2 separate regions of the Homo sapiens genome follow, and region 1 is linked to region 2. The links are contacts of gene promoters, found by promoter capture Hi-C in human tissues and cell types (Jung and others, 2019). All regions are on one chromosome and are shown on one strand. The core of a region is centred on a gene start or on the middle of the fragment in contact, and the rest is flanking DNA. Distances in the headings are between cores, read along the strand shown. Region 1 has its middle 3.9 kb from the start of MED11. Region 2 holds the start of ALOX15 (arachidonate 15-lipoxygenase).

The links. Contacts are between HindIII fragments. The study calls those that stand out against the background at their distance.
Region 1: a fragment that was not itself captured here is called in contact with the fragment with the promoter of ALOX15 in region 2 in 4 of the 25 tissues and cell types used here (H1 embryonic stem cells, IMR-90 fibroblasts, dorsolateral prefrontal cortex and 1 more).

Annotation. Positions count from the first base shown.
Region 1 is chr17:4,726,150-4,728,849 of GRCh38, reverse strand. No RefSeq gene overlaps it. Among named protein-coding and RNA genes, the nearest start is that of MED11, 3.9 kb to the left of the region's middle. The HindIII fragment of the contact is 5,027 bases long and covers 1-2,700 here.
Region 2 is chr17:4,640,246-4,642,945 of GRCh38, reverse strand. ALOX15 (arachidonate 15-lipoxygenase) reads left to right here and starts at 1,268. Exons shown (of 14, transcript NM_001140.5): 1 at 1,268-1,429. The coding sequence starts at 1,295. The HindIII fragment of the contact is 22,491 bases long and covers 1-2,700 here.

The DNA.
Region 1 (2,700 bases), core at 1-2,500, 86 kb before region 2:
TCAGTCTCCAAAAAAGAAAAACAGAGATTAAGTGAAAGTTTAGGGCCAGGTGAGTTGGCTCATGCCTGTAATTCTAGCGCTTTTGGAGGCCAAGGCAGGAGGATCACTTGAGCCCACGAGTTTTAGACCAGCCTGGGCAACATAGTGGGACCCTAACTCTACAAAAAGTATAAAAATAGTCCCAGCCACTTGGAGGGGCCTGAGGTGGGAGGATTGCTTGAGCCTGGGAGTTGAGACTGCAGGGAGTCCTCATCACGCCTCTGCTCTCCAGCCTGGGTGACAGAGTGAGACCCTGTATCCAAGAAAAAACAAAAACAAAAACGAAAGTTTATATAGTGAGTGGTAGTTTCCAGAACTCCAGCACAAGGCTTATACTTTCCAGGTAAGAGACTGGAAGACTCTTCTCTGGGGAATTTGGTAAGTGAGAAAAGACCTTACGATGTGAACGTCAGGGGTTCTCCAACCAGTCAGTTGGCCAGATCACCTCATACTGAAACTCACAGTTGGCAAGTCCCAACTGTGTACATGGAAATTCTAGTCAACTTCTTGGCACCTCACTCTTTTTTTTTTTTTTTTAGTTTCTTGAGATAGGGCCTCTCTGTGTCACCCAGGCTAGAGTGCAGTGGCGCAATCATAGGTCATTGTAGTCCTGAACTCCTGGGCTCAAGTGATCTTCCTGTCTCAGCCTCCTGAGTAGCTGGGACTGCAGATGTGAGCCACCATGTCAAGCTAAGCACCCGCTCTTAAATGTGAGCAGAAAGCAAAAATTTCTAGGTATGTAAAGAAACTTTCTAACATGAAAGACAGAAACCAAAATAAAAAGGGGGAGGTGGGGACAACTGTTGAAGCTTTTAGGTAAGAGATAGTATAAAACATGATTGAATCCGAAAAAGCATCCTTGGCTGGGCATGGTGGCTTATGCCTGCAATCCCAGCACTTTTGGAGGTCGAGGCGGGAGGATCACTTGAGGTCAGGAGTTCAAGGCCAGGGTCGGTATAGAGCTTTTCATTCCAGAGTCAGGCTCTCAAGGTAATTGGCAGAGAGCAATGCCAACATTTTATTGAAAGTAGATGTTGTTGCTATTGTTTATGTGTCCAGTAGGGTTGGTCCTGAGGGAATTTAAATGATGGTGCTACATTTCTTGATCCCTTCCTCCACAAACATTATTTTCAGAAGACTAGAAGGTATCAGTAACACTGCAATTTGGAGCAAGACTCCATCTCAAAAACAAAACAAACAAACAAACAAAACACCCTTGAAAAATCAAACCATGAGGGAAGTAATGAAAAAAATCTGTCACACAAGCCAGGTGTGGTGGCTCATGCCTATAATCCCAGCACTTTGGGAGGCCGGGACTGGCGGATCACCTGAGGTTGGGAGTTGGAAACCATCCTGGCCAACATGGTGAAACCCCATCTCTACTAAAAATACAAAAATTAGCTGGGCGTGGTGGCACGCATCTGTAGTCCCAGCTACTCAGGAGGCTGAGACAAGAGAATCGCTTGAACATGGGAGGCGGAGGTTGCAGTGAGCTGAGATTGCACCATTGCACTCCAGCCTGGGCGACAGAGCGTGACCCTCTCTCAAAACAAAAAAAACAAACAAAAACAAAAATCATGAAGTTGCCAAATAAGCATGTTTAGAGATAGGGAGGTAAATGCCAAAATAAACATCTAAAGGTGGTGAAAGTAGGCCAGGTGTAGCCTGAGCAACGTGAGGATACTCCATCTCTACAAAAAATAAAAAAACTGGCCGGGCGCGGTGGCTCACGCCTGTCATCCCAACACTTTGGGAAGCCACGGTGGGTGGATCACCTGAGGTCAGGAGTTCAAGACCAACCTGGCCAACATGGTGAAACCCCGTCTCTACTAAAAATATAAAAACTAGCTGGGCATGGTGGTGGACACCTGTAATCCCAGCTACTCGGGAGGCTGAGGCAGGAGAATTGCTTGAACCTAGCAGACGGAGGTTGCAGTGAGCCGACACAGTGCCACTGCACTCCAGCCTTGGCGACAGAGTGAGACTCTGTCTCAAAAAAACAAATTAATAAAATAATCAAAAAAGTTAAAAAAACTAGCTGGGCATGGTGGCTTGCACCTGTAGTCCCAGTTACTTGGGAGGCTGAGGTGGGAGGATCTCTTCAGCCTGGGGCATCGAGGAGGCTGCAGTAAGCTGTGATCATGCCAAGGGTGACAGAGCAAGACCCTGTCTCAAAAAAAAGGTGGTGAAAGTAGTTGCCTCTGAGGAGGAGGAAATTAGAGTGGGAAGGGTCTGCTTTTTATTGTAATAGGTCTTGTAGTACTATCTGATTCTTTATATGTATATATAACTTTGAAAACAAAAAGTAAAGAAAGAATGAAGAGTGAGAGAGGGCTGGGTGCAGTAGCTCATGCCTGTAATCCCAGCACTTTGGGAGTCCGAGGCGGGCGGATCATGAGGTCAAGAGTTCGAGACCAGCCTGGCCAACATGGTGAAACCCTGTATCTACTAAAAATACAAAAATTAGCTGGGTATGGTGGTGGGTGCCTGTAATCCAAGCTACTCAGGAGGCTGAAGCTGGAGAATCACTTGAACCCAGGAGGCGGAGGTTACAGTGAGCTGAGATCTCACCATTGCACTCCAGCCTGGGTGACAAGAGCGAAAATCTGTCTCAAAAAACAAAACAAAACAAAACCAAAGAAGAGAGGAAATAAAAAAGAG
Region 2 (2,700 bases), core at 19-2,518:
CTGAGGTGGGTGGATCACAAGGTCAGGAGTTCAAGACCAGCGTGGCCAACATGGAGAAACCCCGTCTCTACTAAAAATACAAAAATTATCCAGGCATGGTGGCAGGCGCCTGTAATCCCAGCTACTCGGAAGGCTGAGGCAGAGAATTGCTTGAGCCCGGGAGGCAGAGGTTGCCGTGAGCCGAGATCGTGCCATTGCACTCCACCCTGCATTCCAGGGTGACAGAGTGAGACTCTATATCTCAAAAAAAAAAAAAAAAGGAAAGCTAATTCACTCTGGTGGGGTGGTGGGGGGTGAAAGTACCGGGTAAGACTTTCCTGAGAAACCGGAGGTGAACTAGGGTTTAGAAGCATGAATAGATGAATAGACTAATCCAGGAGCAAGTTCTTTTGAGAGAACAGCAGGTGGGGTTCTGGGGAACACATGGCTCCAGCCCAAAAAGAAACTGGAGACGAATTAGGGTTTAGAAGCATGACCAGACTAACCCAGAAGTGAGTTCTTTGAGAGAACAGCAGGGGCGGCGGGGGGAGGGGGGGTTCCGGGGAACACATGGCTCCAGCACAGGAGATGCCAGGGTGCAGTGGGATGAGAGGTGAGGAGAGCAGGTCAGGTTAGCAAGGGCATTGAATGCCAGAAACATTTGGACTTTTATTCTGCAGGCAACAGGGAGGCAGCGGCTTTTATGCTCAAAAGGAATGAGTCCCAGTGGCTGGCACAGAGAAGGCAAGTGTGCAAAGCTGGTCGAATGAATTCCGTGGCCTGAATGTACCTTCCTCAAATGCCACTGCAAACTGGGTCTCCTCGCCCACTTCACCCTCTCCTGCAATCCAACTTGTGAGGCTTGTGTGTGCGCGCGCGTGTCCTTGCGTGTGTGTGTGTGTGCACGCGTGCGTTTAGATGGAGGTTGGCTTCCCAGCCACCCAGGCTTGGCCCAAAGTCCGTGGTACACACGTGCATAACTCCTACCCCCACCTCGCCTGCCTGCTGTACCAGGCGTTGATTCCCTCTTCCTGCGTGTTTTCGGTCCAAATCCTTTTCTTTTTCTCCCTCCCGTCAAGATAGTGGTTTCCACTCCCTGCTCTCGCCAGGACACCGCCTTTTGGACTGGGGCTGAATTCTGCCCCTTGAAGCTCTGCTCCTTGGAGCTGGGGGCCCCAGCGGTAGGCGGAGTTGATTGGAGACCTGCCACCCACATTCCGACCCCAAGCGACCTCCGAGAGGGCGGGGTCTCAGGCTGGGTTATTTAGCTCGTCCACCCTTCTCCACCAGAAGGAGCGAAACATCTTTGAGCAAGATGGGTCTCTACCGCATCCGCGTGTCCACTGGGGCCTCGCTCTATGCCGGTTCCAACAACCAGGTGCAGCTGTGGCTGGTCGGCCAGCACGGGGAGGCGGCGCTCGGGAAGCGACTGTGGCCCGCACGGGGCAAGGTGAGCTCCCCAGAGCCGGGCGGGGTGGGCTGCGCCCCTGGCTCCGAGTCAGTCAAATACCGGGGAGGACATGCGCCCCCGTTGGCCTCTGGCCGATTCTCTTTGCCAAGGGCCCGCGCATTGGGCTCAAAGCGCGCGGAGGCCACGGGGGTGGGGGGCTTTAGGGCAGTCGGTGGCACACAGTAAGCGCTCAATAAATGTTGCCGCTACCCGATCTCCTTGGAATTGAGGGCATGCTCCTGTGCGCCCCTCATTGCACAAAGCTCCCTTGTCTGGAAACTCAGCAGTCACTGGAGCCGCCGTCGGTCCTCTCGCTTTCTCTATTTTAAAAACCGTTTCAACCGCTAGCGCTGTTGGATCTCTACCTTTCAGGCTTTATCACCTGGGGTGGAGTGGGTGGTGAGAGGGAAGGGATGGGGAGTCAAGACAGGAGAACGCTCTCGATTTCCCGACCCACCTCCCGTCATATCTCATGTCACATCTACCGGGTGTTCTACCCGGTCCTGTTAACTTTTTTTCTTCCGCGAAAGCCCAAATTCCCATCACTGCTCTAGCTCTCTCCCAGATCCCCAAATCCGGATGTCTGTCTCAGGGAACGTCAAAGCAACATGCCCGGATGAGGTCCTCCCCTCTCCCCACCTCCCAGCCCTCTCCTCCTGCCTCCCCCGGTGTCACCCGCGCCTCCTTCCTCTCTTCACCTCCCTCTAAACAAGAATCCGGCGCAGTCAGTTCTAGACCCTGAGCATCTCCCGCGTCCCTGCCCAATATCCGTCCCGCCCCCGACCGCCCGCGTCCTCTTGAACCTGCGGAGCCCTGCTCCCCGCACTCCACGCCCTTGCTCCGAGCTTCCGAGAAAGCGGGGCAAAGGGAGCCAGGAAGAGAGAAAATGCGCACGGAGCAGGTGGCCCCGCGACTCCATGGTGAGGGGACGGGGCACGGAAGGTGGAAAGGCGCGCTCCCTCCTCCCTTTTTTCCTCCCTATGGTGGGCAGTTGGTGACACACAGTAAAGGCTCAATAAATGTTCCCGCTACTCGATCTCCTTGGAATTAAGGGGATGCTCCTGAGCGCCCCTCATTCCACACAGCTCTGGTGCCTGGAAACTGCGGTCGCCGGAGCGGTCGTCGGTCCTCCCGGTTTCTCTATTTTAAAAGCCATTTCAAACCTCCAGCGGCCTCGCCACCTCTGCTGCAGACCTTCCAAGCCCTTCTGAAGCCGGAATGATTTCTCCCTAATTCACTCCCCCTGCTTAACACATTCGAACGGCTCCCGC